2 separate regions of the Homo sapiens genome follow, and region 1 is linked to region 2. Evidence: promoter capture Hi-C in human tissues and cell types (Jung and others, 2019). All regions are on one chromosome and are shown on one strand. Each heading gives the region's core, a stretch centred on a gene start or on the middle of the fragment in contact. The rest is flanking DNA. Distances are from core to core; before and after follow the strand shown.

What was found. Contacts are between HindIII fragments. The study calls those that stand out against the background at their distance.
Region 1: a fragment that was not itself captured here is called in contact with the fragment with the promoter of ABCB11 in region 2 in 4 of the 25 tissues and cell types used here (IMR-90 fibroblasts, bladder, hippocampus and 1 more).

What each region holds. Positions count from the first base shown.
Region 1 is chr2:168,988,579-168,995,670 of GRCh38, forward strand. ABCB11 (ATP binding cassette subfamily B member 11) reads right to left here. Exons shown (of 28, transcript NM_003742.4): 7 at 6,771-6,904; 8 at 5,133-5,304; 9 at 2,223-2,347. Among named protein-coding and RNA genes, the nearest start is that of ABCB11, 39 kb to the right of the region's middle. The HindIII fragment of the contact is 4,342 bases long and covers 1-3,591 here.
Region 2 is chr2:169,026,739-169,033,757 of GRCh38, forward strand. It overlaps ABCB11 (ATP binding cassette subfamily B member 11), which reads right to left and starts at 4,586. Exons shown (of 28, transcript NM_003742.4): 1 at 4,487-4,586. The HindIII fragment of the contact is 8,591 bases long and covers 1-6,727 here.

The sequences.
Region 1 (7,092 bases), core at 171-2,670, 41 kb before region 2:
GAGTACAGTTTTCTCTTGACATAGTGATTTCATTTCCTTTGGATATATACCCAGTAGTGGGGATGCTGGATCATATGGTAGTTCTGTTTTCCATTTTTTGATGAATCTCCATACTCTTTGGCTGTACTGATTTACTTTCCCACCAAAAGCGATCCGTGTAACAGTGTTTCATTTTCCCCATATGCTTGCCAACACTTGATATCTTTCTTCTTTTTATAATGGCCATTCTTACAGGTATAAGATGATATCTCATTGTGGTTTTGACTTGTGTTTCCTTGATGATTAGTGATGTGTGACATCTTTTCACATGCCTGTTGTATGTTTCTTTTTGTACGTTTCTATTTGTATGTTTTCTTCTGAGAAATGTCTATTCAGGTCTTTTGACCACTTTTTAATCAGGTTGTTTTCTTGTCATTGAGTTGTTTGTGTTTCTTATATGTATTGGATATTAACCCCTTATCAGATGTATGGGTTACAAATATTTTCTCTCATTCTATAAATTGCCTCTTCACTCTGTTGATTGCTTCCTTTTTGAAGCTTTTTAGTTTGATGTAATCCCATCTGTCTATTTTTGCTTTTGTTACCTGTCCTTTTGGGGTTGTGTCAAAAAAATCATTGCCTAGACCAATGTCATAGAGCTTCTTCCCTATGCTTTCTTCTAGTAGTTTTTCAGTTTTATATCCTACATTTAAAACTTTAATCCATTTTGAGTTGATATTTGTGTATAGTGTGAGGTAAGGATCAAATTTCATTCTTCTGCATGTGGATATCCAGTTTCCCCAACATCGTTTATTGAAGAGACTGCCCTTTCCTCATGGTGTGTTGTTGGTCTCTTTATTGAAAATCAATGGACTATAAATGCATGGACTTCTTTCTGGGCTCTCCATTCTTTTTCACTGGTCTATGTGTCTGTTTCTATGCCAGTACCATGCTGTTTTTATTACTATAGTAATCAAATAATCTAATAATGATCTATTACTTTGTAGTAGATTTTGAGATCAGGTAACGTGATGCCTCCAGCTTTGTTCTTCTTGTTCAGGATTTTTGCTATTCAAGGTCTTTTGTGGTTGCTAAGAAGTGGCAAGAATGGGCATTTTTGTCTTGTTCCTGATCTTAGGGGGAAAAGCTTTCAAATTCTCACCCTTGAGTATGATTTAGCTGTGGGCTTGTCATATGTTACCTTTATTGTATTGAGGTACATTCTTTTTATACCTAATTTGTTGAGAGTTTCTGTCAGGAAAGGATATTGAATTTTGTTAAATGCTTTTTCAGCATCTATTGAGATAACCATATGGTTTTTGTCTTTCATTCTGTTAATGTGGTATATTACATTTATTGACATGCCTATGTTGAACCATCCTTACATCCTAGGGATAAATCTCACTTGATCATGGTGAATGATTCTTTTAATGTGCTATTCAATTTGGTTTACTAGTATTTTTGTTGAGCATTTTCACGTCCATGTTTATCATGGATATTGGCCTTTGATTTTCTTGTAGTATCCTTTTCTGGCTTTGGTATCAAGGTAATATTGGCCTTGTAAAATGAGTGTGAAGTATTCCCTCCGCTTTAATTTTGTGGAAGAATTTGAGGAGGACTGGTACTAGTTTTTCTTTAAATGTCTGGTAAAATTCAGCAATGAAGCTATCAGGTCCTGGGCTTTTCTTTCATGGGAGACTTTTTATTACTGATTCAATCTCCTTACTCATTATTGGTATGTTCAGATTTATTTCTCTTTATTTCTCCGTGATTCAACCTTGGCAGGTTGTATTTTTATAGGAATTTATCCATTTCTTCTAGGTCATCCAATTTGTTGGCGTTTGTTTTTAGTAATCTCTTATGATCTTCTGTATTTCTGTGGTATCAGTTGTAATGTCTCATGTAGGCTTTTCTTTAATGACAGCAAACAGCATTATAGACTGATATGAGGTATAATATTTATACATACATACCATCAGAGTTTGAAATAAATATCTACCCTGAGCTGGCTTTCTAAAAATTGCCAACTGCAACATCTTTAAAAACATACTGCTAAAGGCTTGGGACTTCTTATAGTACCTAAATTACCAACCTAAATTACTCTGCTTAGCTCCCTCTTGAACAAGTACTTCCTCTGGAGGCCACAGACCAAGGTGGGTCTGCCGCTTTGCACAAACTGAGAGACTCAGGGTACTATGCTGATTGATGAAATTAAGGAAAGAATCAGATTCCAATTAACCAACCTTTCAACCTCTCTTTTCTCACCACCAAAAGCAGCCACTGTTCTCATTGATGAAATGACTTCATCAGCCACCACCCCTGCTTTGGCATAGGCCTTCAGCTCATAGTCCGTAAACTTGGACACACTCTAAAAATCAAAAAGAAGAAAAGAAAATGTGAAGTCCAAGAAATTAGGTAAGTCAGTCTGTCATTCAGATTCATTTAACATGTGGCATGGGTTTAATACAATATTAGATTCTCACTGTAACATCATTGACAGGAGGAAGAAATCTGGTCCAAATTTGGTCTATGGTAAGCTTCATCCAGGGTTGTCTGGTTGTTGATATATCAAAATGACCCTACTAAAAGTAAGAACCTCCTCAAAGAATAAATTCCAAATAGGACATTCTGTAAGACTAAAGTGTTTCAGTCATTATACTAATAAAGTGTTAAGTTAGACCATGTCATAGTTCATTGCTATTAGCCAATGGCCATTGCATAATTTATAGACAAACGCCAGAGACACATGCAGATATCATGATTGGGTATAATATATGACATATAACATATAAAGTATAGGCATGATGTTGAAAGACGATTTCAGATGATTCCAGAAAAGAAAGTCCATTTTCACTCAGTTGGAGACGCTCAACTATGTAGTTTTGATTTTTACAAAAGGAAATGAAAAGACATCTGTACTTAACAGTAGACACATTACTTTTTCTAAAACTGACTTGGATTGAGTCCTAGTCAAAATGAACCCCCAAAGAAAACCCTGGCACAGATTAATAAATAAGAAGAGGAAAAAACACATATTGCGGAAGATCAACTAGCTCAGAAATATAAAAATATATATAATACCCAGATTAAGGGAGTTTATCTTCCAGTAGTTTTTCCAAACTTTTAGCAGCAAAACTCTTATCAAAATCTTAGATGGAATTCTAAGATGTAAATTAAGTAAGTATTCATAGTAGTTTTTAAAAACAATATATTAATTTCATCAGTGTACATTTTATAAAACATGTGAATTAAACATGTAACAGTAAGGAAAGTGAGGCTTTTTTTTTTTTTTTTTAAAGAGACGGGTTCTTGTTCTGTTGCCCAGGCTGGAATGCAGTGGCATGATCCTAGCTCACTGCAGTCTCAAACTCCTGTACTCAAGCATTTCACTGGCCTCAGCCTCCTGGGTATCCGAGACTATAGGCACATGCCACCATGCCTGGCTATTTAAAAAAAATTTTTTTTTTTTTTTTTGTAGAGATGGGATCTCACTGTGTTACCAAGACTGGAAGCTGTTTTTATTAACATTAAAATTTACATTTGAGCCTAGTGAAGTTGCTTGTATAGTTTGTTGTATAGTTGCTTGTAGAAGTTTGTTGTATAAGGACAAGCATACACAGACTTGAAAGCAAGACAAGACATGTGCAGACCTACAACATTCCAAATCAGTGACGAGTTTATGAGAAGCTAGAAATGGGTACTGAGATGACTAGAGAAACTAAGCGTTAGAGCTGTTTAAAACCAAGTGAACTGGGCTATATGTTAACCTCCAACATGTTGAAATGTGGCCTATGATCCACGTGAGTGTGTATATTACTTTATCACAGGTTTGAAGAAAGAGATTAGTGTATTCAGAAAAAAAATGAAAAAATGTTTGCAAAACCCCTGAAGCTCTTCTGTGGAAGTTGAGGGTTCTCTGGAGTATAGTTGGAAAGTGGTTAGTAGGAAAGACTGCCGTAAAACTTGAATGATATAGTGGATTGAAAAACATATACATCTCTCTTTAGCAATTGATTCTGTGCCCGACACGGCTTAAATGCATAACGTGGATTATTCCCTGAATCATCATAATGTTTTTGGGAGGTATTATCCCTATTTTAAAGACAAGGAAACTGAGGTTTTCAGGGGTTAAATGGATTTTTCCTGAGTCACACAACCTGTTAGCGGTACAGCCAAGTGGTGACCTAATGAAATGGAGCGAGCTCTTTGCTATTGTCACTTTAAACCATTTTCTATTTTATCTGGGAAATGTTTGAATAATGTAGACACTGTGAGAATATTTTGCTATTGAGCAATAGGAAGTTGGTACCTATTGCTCAACGATGTGTGAGGGTGTATGCAGTTTTTCAGTTAAATTCTATTCTCATTTATAGCACAGTTTTAGTATGCCTGATTCCATAACGTGCTATCTAATGTGGCTGCTCTAATAATAATTTCTCAGTCCTTGGGAGTGTTTTTAGCTGATGTGACCCGAAATTCCTATTCCTATATGTTGTCCAGGCCTCAATTCCTGGGGAACCGAGACAGTGACTGGGATAACTCTTGGAATGGGTCAGATCACCTCTCTCTGAAAGAGGTTATCTGAAAGATAAGATGAAATGGAGAACACAGTTGTGATTGCAGAAATCCTTCTTGTGTGCTTGTTAATGCTCTTTGTCTGTTGTGCCTTTTCAGGGAAGTGCCCAAGCTTGGGAGGACATGGAGAACAATAGGCATATTGGAGAGTGAGTGGGGTTTGGAGTCAGAGCCCCTTAGACTTGAATCCTACTCTGCCAGCTGTGCAGTCCCAGACAAATCCCCTTACCTTTCTGAGCCTAGTTTCTTATATTTAAAATGATGTTAGTGCTCACTTTATAAGATTGTTGTAAAGATTAGAGATAATGACTATTAAGCTCCTAGTAGTGCCTAGAGAAACAGTGAATGCTCAATAAATGTAATTGCTGTTAATAAAACAATATTTACCTATTAAAACATCATTAATCCCTATTCGATGAAATGTCATTTGACACTGGGGAGTAATCTAACAAACTACATGAAGATAGTGATAATTATGTTGCTAACTGTACTCAGGAAAAGGGACTCAAGCTTCACATTTTTGGCTGTTTATGAAGGCAAATGTCTTCCCATGGAGAGATGCAAAAAGACATTCTTACCAGACCAATGGTGGCTGCTCCAATCCCAATGAGAGGGCTGACAGAAATAATAACCAAGGTCAGTTTCCAACCCCTGAAAAATCCCAACAGGAAACCACAGATGGTCGAGGTCATGCGCTGAATGAAAAGGGCCATTTGGTCAGCTATGGCATCATTGATTTTATTAATATCACTAGAAACCAGAAAGATTTTGGTCACTAAAACTGAATTTGATCATTCAAATATCTTGCTGAAAGTCTCAGTCTTTCCCTTTTAAACATTCCCATCTCTCTATCCCTATCACCCTTGGATAGCATTAACAGCCTCTCAGATCTTGGAAAATTTGCTGCACCTTGGGATGTTATCAAGCCTCTTTCCTGATAGCCAATCAATTTTGTTCTTAATCTAGGTTTCCCAGCTGGTACTCAGTGTTGATAAAGGCTTTTGGAAACCATCTTATTTGTCTTTTTCTTTTACATAGCTAATATCCTTGCTCTGTCTTGCAAAGCTTTTCTTTCTTCATGCCTGCTGAATCCTTTCAGCCTCAAGGTTCTAGTCACATACCTTCTCGTGCATCAATCTTGTATAATCCCCCAAGAAGAAGTAACACCTTTCTCCCTGTGTTTCCGTAACACTGTAATTAATCCTTGTGCATTTGTATGTGTGTGGAATTATTGCATTCTGCATATAGGCAGTATAGAGTAGTGGTGAAGAGTGCAGATTCTGGAGCCAGACTAGGAATTTGAATACAGACTCTTGTTGGGCAAGTTACTTAACCTTTTTGTGGCTCAATTTTCTTGTCTGTAAAATAAGAACAATAATAGAACCTACCCCAATGGGTAATAATGAGGATTAAAGTAGCGAATATATGTAAAGCCTATAGGACAGCGCCTATCATATAATAAACAATATGTGTTAGTTCTGATTATTTGCTTGCATTTCTTATTTCCCCTACGAGGCTGTAAGTTCCTCAAGAGCACAAGTGCAAGGCAATTGCTCCAGAATATTTATTGAATATAATTATATTAAATTCATATTCCTGAGAACATTTCCTTAATCTCTTGTCCAGTTGGAGTGAAGAGAGCTTGGAACTAAACAGCAAGAAAGAACCTAAGACATCACCCAGGTATTAGGCCATTGTGTTCCAGCAGGGTTAGATAACTGCTCAAGGTCACAGTAAGGAGCAGAGTAAGTGCCGGAAGTCAGGGGTCCTGAATTTCAGTGTGCTTTATCTACACTGTAGAGTGACTGTCTTTCAGGGGACCTCAAAATTCAGTTCAATAGGGTTCGACCAATTCTAATTCCTCTCATTTAGAATTCCTGGGTGGCTGTTAATGACCTAAACTAGGTGTAAACTGGATTTAAATCCAGTTACACCTGGACAGCTAAATAACCTTTTTAACTGTCTTCTATAATATTTCCTTTCTAATATTTTAATTAAGGTCTACACACCAAATTGCAGTACCTTGGGTTTCAATTTTTAATGTCCATATTTGACAGTGTATTACTTATGAAAAAGCCATGCCACATATGAAAGCCCAATTTAAGAGATGAAACATAGGAAAACTGAAAATATTTTTAAATTTTTATTTAATTTAGAAACAAGGGTTTTATTATCCAAAAATCACACACTAAAATACTGTTTTACCAGCTACTTACTCAGAGAATCTTGTATTCAGCTCCCCCACTGAATTGCAGTCAAACCACCCTATTTCCATTCTCATTATTCTCCTAAAGTAAAATTTTCTCATTTTCTGTATCTGACGAGCTGCGGCAATGACCCAAAAGCATATCTGGAAATGGACAAAGGAATGTTTAGCATTGCAATGTTTGAAATATTTGTTAATTTCTTTTTTCAGAAGAAAGTACTTTCAATACAACAGTTGAGAAAAGGGGGAAAGTAATTCAGAAAATGCCTCTTCTTGGGAACTAAGATGTGAGCTCTGTCATCTGCTGCTAAAAGTGGAGGTAAACAGAACCT
Region 2 (7,019 bases), core at 3,336-5,835:
ATGCTGGAGGACATGGCTGCCAGTCTCTGAAACCCTGGAAATGCAGTGGGAATCTAGTTTTTGGTGATAAACATATTTGTTTTGCAGGTTCTTGAGAGTGTACCTCCTCCTCATTTGGCACTTTCTATGATTTAAGAGTACCATGGTGTTTTGCCACATTATTTTTCCTCACTGATTACAAGTAGATATAATGTCACCTAGTTCTACTGTCTCGGCCATTAGCTGTAACACTTTTTTAGCACCTAACCTAATAACTTGATTTGAGTTTCATACATTGAAGGAGGCTTTAATTAGGGTTTCTTAACAAATTTACAATAACAAAATTTTACTTAAACTAACACAAGAAAACTCAGAGTTGAAAATAACATCCAATGCTATTTCATTTTTACTGTGCACTTTAACATATTAAATTATTTTAACCTCCCCAAAATCTCTTCAGGAACAGACTGAGAATTTTCAAGGCATTCCAGAAAAATGTATTTTCCAATAAACTTAAGGGAATCTAAGAGTAAAAAGCAGGAAATCGAGATGTCTAAGCACTAGTTGGCAGACTTTGGACACCTAATCATAGAATCCCCCAAGAATTCTTAATTGTCCACACCAACTCCAGTGTTCCTCTCTGCTAAGTGACATGTGGTCTATAACCTGCACACTATATGCGCTTCTGTTTAACTATTCAGGGTTGAAGTTTTCTCTTGATAAAATGTGTAATCTTATCAACACAGATACGCACATTAGAGAACAGTCTCCTGACAATTACTGGTAAAAACATATCAAAGATGTTTCTATCTTACACTCTAACAACAGCATTCTGAAAGACCTCACTGCTGGGGAGGAGGGGATGGGGAAGAGAGACCATCAGCTAGATGGTCACTTGAGAGAACCTAGTACTTTGACTGACCTTAAAAATGGGCCTGAATGAGTAGTACCACAAAGGTCCTGAGGCTGTCAAAATTGGAGGAGATACAGGGTTCTACAAGCCATGCCAGAAAGAAATCAAAGATCCTGAGAGCATAAAATGTCAGTGCCCACTACTTGCCACTACAGCAAGGCTGCTAGTGTGAACTGGTGGGGATGTCAGCCTGGAGCAACAGATGGACAGGCTGATCTTCACCAATGGCTGGGATCAATACTAGCAATTGGCTATTGGTATTGTAGAAGAATTGAAGAAAAAAAAAGGGTCAGGGTTGAGAAAAGGTGTCTCCAGAGCTGAATCCTTCTGGGCTGAAAGATACCATTACCATCCTATTTTATAAATACAGTTTTATGGGAACACAGTCATACCCTTTCATTTTCTATTATCTTTGGCTGCTTCTGTGCTACAGTGACAGAATGTATGGCCCTTTCTCTCTCCCATACCTAAAATATTCACTATACAGCTCTTTGCAGAAAATGTCAATCCCTGTACTGTGAGATCAGTTCAGGGCAGCCTGAGGCCCAGGAAGAAATCTCTGAGGACCTGATTTACCTACCCTAAAAATTGTGTGGAGCACCAGCCCTCCAGCCAGCCCTACCCTCATGGAACTTACAATGTGGCAGGGAAGGCAGACATTATCTGGGAAATTAGGCGTCAAGCAGGATGGCAGTGAGGAAAGGGGAAATACAGGCATCTCCTGGGCCCTGATGCAGAGGAGCTGCCTTGTCTAGAGAGCTGGAGAAGGCTCTGGAGCAAGTGCTTAGCATGAGATGTTGAAGATGAGAGCAAGTTTTCCATGGGAAGAGGAGAGGGAAGAGCAGTCCAGGCAGGGAAGGACACATGCAAAGGCCCAGATGCAAGAGACAGGGCAGCCGGGTCCAAGGCTGAAGGAGCCCAGTGAATCTCAGGGAGGCGGATGGGCAACTCGGGAGGATGTGGCTGGTTGATCCTTCAGGGCCTCATGATCCTTACCACTGAGAACTTGGGACCTTATCCTAAAGGCCATGGGAAGCTAATGAAGTCTTTTAGGCAAGAAAGGATATGATCAAATTTATACTTAAAAAAAGTTACCCTGATAAGGCTTGGGACTTGGAGCCCACACCCACAGAGGTTAGGAAATGGGTTTGAGAAGAATAGAGATCCCACCAGACCAAGAGGCAGAGATGGCTCTGTCTGTGTTCTAGGGTTTTGCATTTTCTCTGCAGAGATTTGTTCCACTTTCCATTTAATTTCCACCCAAATGCTATTTTTTGAAACATGTTGACCTTTTCTAGACTTAATTAAGGAAAAAGAGCTTTTTCCACATTCAGGCCAAGATGGTAAGAAGAATCTAAATGTCCTCAAAGCCATTGAGGAGCTGAGGACAGTGAGGGGAACCAAGCCAGGCCCGGGAGTGGAGAGCACCCGCCCCCACCATGCCCCACATCACACTGTGAATATTCTGATCATGTGAGGGTCCCTCCACGGCTTTTCTCTTGTGAAGTCTTGCCCTCTGTAAAGACTTTCAAGACCCCAGCGCCACAAACTCCCCCTTCACAGAGCTGCTCAGAGAGAACAGAACTGCCCCTGCTCCTCTTCAATTTGGATGTCCTTTCTAAACTACAGTTTTCTTTTCTTTCTTTTTTTTTTTTTTAAAGCCCTTAAAACGTCTTTCACTGCTGACATTTAAAAATGTAGGTAGGATACTTTTGTTATTATCAGCTCAGCAAATGATTTCTTTATCTAAAAGATTATTAGAGAAGGAAAGAAACATTTAATATATGCTAAGAAACAAAGAAAATAGAAAGGCATTATTTTCCAGATAAGCTCACTGTCGGTTGATGCTGTGTGTCAACACTGTGGGTGACCCAGTCTGGGAATAGACTAAAATGAGGCCCTTCCAGCCCTGAGGGCTATGGCTGATAGGGAAGGGAAATAAATACACGGTGATCCCATTGGCCACGTAAGTCCTTTCTTCAGAGGCACCGTTGAGGTAGAGGACTAAAGAATTGCTTAGGAAGAAAACAGAATGTAACACCAAAGTTAACTGCCACAGCGATTCTTTGTCTCTAAATGTACAGTTCTTTCCTCTTTTTTTTTTTTTTTTTTTTTTTTTTTTGAGAGGAGTCTCGCTCTGTCGCCCAGGCCGGACTGCGGACTGCAGTGGCGCAATCTCGGCTCACTGCAAGCTCCGCTTCCCGGGTTCACGCCATTCTCCTGCCTCAGCCTCCCGAGTAGCTGGGACTACAGGCGCCCGCCACCGCGCCCGGCTAATTTTTTGTATTTTTAGTAGAGACGGGGTTTCACCGTGTTAGCCAGGATGGTCTCGATCTCTTGACCTCATGATCCACCCGCCTCGGCCTCCCAAAGTGCTGAGATTACAGGCGTGAGCCACCGCGCCCGGCCAGTTCTTTCCTCTTGACCAAGCAAAACACAACTCCAGTATTTGATTTCTGCAATGAAACTTGGGCATTTTATGGCAATTGTAGCATCTTTTAAAACCACAAAATGGGCATTTTCCCCCTAAATAGCTTCTTAATCCATTTTTAGGAGTCATCCCCTAATATTTGTCACCATTATTCTTGGTACTAGGAAACAAAAATTATTCAAGGGGCTTGCAATCTAGAGTGGGGTGGAGTGTAAACAGAAGCTCCTAGACAGGGAAATGGAGGCTTCAACCAGAGACAATCACAGTGTTACAGAGCACAGCAGGGGGAACCAAGGTGAGGGGGGTGAGCAGTGAGGGGACGAGGTTGCCCACAGAAAAGAACTTCTATTAAACAACAGCTCATAAATAAGTTATCACTTCAAATGTTTAATAAAAACCACTACTAACTCCTAATATTAAAAAGTTTTAGGTATAACCACTATAATTTGTCTCTAACATCTCTAAAAAGCTATTCCCCCTCAAAATGTTGACAAATACTGTCTTTTATTCCCAGTCTGAAGTGTGAATAATATTTGATCTCTGTGCTCAAGCCATTAGCAATATGTGACTCCCACTGGCTTGGGTGACCTAAAAACTGAAATTAGATCCTAGAAACAAACTTTCTCCCCTCTAAACATGCATCCACAGCTCATTTTTTTTTGCATCTATATTTTTGAAAACCGGGACAATGAAGAAATGAGTACGGTGTTGGAGAAAAGATAAAGTCGGTGTAGTTCTGCATTAAACCAGCTTTCAAGGGTAGAATTTGTGATCATTGAATCTGTGATTATCAGAGCAAACAGAATTGTGCTTTCACAAAGCCAAGTTAAAAAAGAAGCCCACTGGTATTTTTACTTTGAGCAGATTATTCAATCTATTCGGCCATTTGTACCACACACCCATGTACACCACTCTCTCTCTCTCTAAGAGATTGATACATGAAATAGCATTGCTATAAAGAAGACAGCAACCAAGAGTCATCTGTATTGTATACAATGTTGTGAAATCATTAATGCATCCTGTAAGTTTCTATCCAAGTATTGTAGCGTTGTTTACACTGGACAAGAGACCAATGTTTAATAAACCAGAAACACTCCACTCCACAAAGTAAGAGTTAAAGGGAAGAGGGAATGGATTTGCAGAGACAAGTATAAGTTACTTACCTGTGAATATGAATTTGAGGAAGCCAGAGGAAATAATGGACTCCACTGTGGAGAGTTAAAAGGTTTCACAACCTTTTCCAACCTCGGTTTTCATCATTCTAAAGCACTGAACAGAATTCAAACTTTTTCAAGAACATTATCTATTTGCCTAAGGATCAATGTCCCTAAGGGCAGCCCAAGCACAGTTCAGTGACATACGAGAAACATACTCAGAGCAATAACCCCAAACACAGAGTGTGCTTGGGAAACCCTCTGAGGGTGTCAACAGGCCTTGGAAATTGCTGATTCACCTTGGAACGAGAGGCAAATTGAGCAGAGTGGGCCCAGCAAGAGCCCTGGAATTCAGGCTATCCCAACCCTTATTTTTTACAGGCCTGTAGTTGTGAAAAGTTACTTAAAAACATAACAAGACAAAAAAAAAAAATACCTTTAAACTTTCCCCCTCAATATAAAAGATTGCTCTTGGAAAATCCCTGGTTGCAGGATCCAGATGCTCCTGGCCCAGCTATAGAGTTTTGTGGAGACAAATACCCTAAAAGAACATTTGAAACAGCCTTGCTCAAAAGTCTGAGTGCACAGACAACTCTTGCACCCTGGCATGGACACACCAGATGAAGCTCTGTATAAGCAAAGATGAACGATTTTCTAAAGGTTCAAATGAACAGGTCTTGAGTCAAATAAGCATGTGGAGCTCCTCCAATATATTTGTGCTGCCTCTTCCTCTCCCTTCTTGTGAATCTTTCCATTTTTCCTACAATGTTCTTATTTTTTCTCCTTTGCCTGAGCTTACTTTTCCCTAAATGCCTCTCACTCCAGCCTTCAGCAATGAATAATAATAGGCAACATTGGTCAAGACTTGGTTGGGTGCCTGGCCCACTTCAAAAATGTTATTTGTATCACCTCATTTGGGCCTCTCAACAGCCCTAGGAGTTGGGTGCTATCATGTCATTTCTATTTTATAGTTGGGGAAACTGAAGCACAGAGAGGTTAAATAATCCTCCTAAGGTGTAACAACTAGTAGATGTGAAGCCACATGCCAGTCTGTGCTAACCTTCTTCCACTCTGTGCTCTGAAATGCAATTGATGGGCCAGTGCTTCTTAATTTGCAGAAATTAAACTGTAAGATCAAATTTTCTCAATTTTAGGTTTCTCTGTCATAAATTTTTTATTAAAATTCAGCATCCACCATTTTTTCTCTATTGGAATTTATGTATAAGATGGTTTATGACTTAGCCCATAAAACCCAAAATTATAACATATAATTTTATATGTTATTATATGTTCAAATCTCAAATATATCAAGGTCAGCAAAGAAAAGCAAGATTTCTAGATGTTTCCTCTATGCAAACTGAATGGGTTGACTTCTGAGTTGACGCAAATGTAGTAATATTGGATTTGGCACCAATTAGGACCCAGGAAAAAAATTTTGCTTCACACAAAACCAAAAAGGCAACACAGCTATGGGGCTGTAGCTTTGATTGGGAAAAGATTCCCAATAGAATTTTGCTACCTTTGCTGTGCTGAAGTTATTGACAGCAGTCAAAGGGTAAAAATGCCAAGAGAAATTTGTCAACTCAGGACTATAGCTGATCTGCTCACAGGTCCAAGGGTCCTAAGACTTTCCTTCTGGTGCCATGAAGATCCAAGGGAAGATAAAAGCATAGAGTTTTAGAGCTAGAAACAACATTGTAAATATTGATATATCATCCAACAACTTCATCTTATAGATGAGAAAAGTGAAGACAGAGTGGCCATCTGTCCAGGGCCCTGGAGAGTTCAGGGTGTCTTCCTCTGCACCCTCATGCTGGCCAGACACATCTGGGCAGTGTGAGTACTGAGTTGATCGTGCTTAATTCACTTCAGCTATAAGCTTGTCTTCTTTATGGTTCACGGTCTGAAAATAGGTAGGGTTGTGGTCCCTACAGTCACCCAATTAAAATACCGGCTCTTTTTGAATGTTTATGTGCCAAACACTGTTCTCAGTTCTGGGATTCAGGAATGAATAAGACAGACGAGAATCTCTGCCTCAGGAATCTTACATTCTGGGGGCAGGGAGGGGGCAGTATAGAGAGGAGACAAAGAAGTAACACATACAATACATCAGATGGTGTAAATGGTATGGAGAAAAGCATTGCAGGAAAGGGATATGATAGGGAGTGTGTGTACGTATGCTGTGTGAGAGAGAGAGTGTGTTTGTGTATGTGTGTGTGTCAGTTAGCGTGTGAGGGGAGAAGGATGTTGCCATTTTTAACTGGGTTTTATGGAAGGGCCCACTGAGATGGTGACATATGAGGAATGACCTGAGGGAGGTAAAGGAACAAGTACATGGGTATCTGGGGAAACCACATGGGCAAAGCTCTGGGCAGGAGCATGCCTGGTGTATGTAAGGAAGCTGAACCTGGAGTGGAGTAAGCAAGACTGAAGTCAGCTGGGGATTATGTCAGTGTGGCGGGAATCATGGAGTGCCATGAGCTCACAGGGCAGTGGCTCTGAAAGTGTGACTACTGGACCAGCAGCAGCCTCCTCATTACCC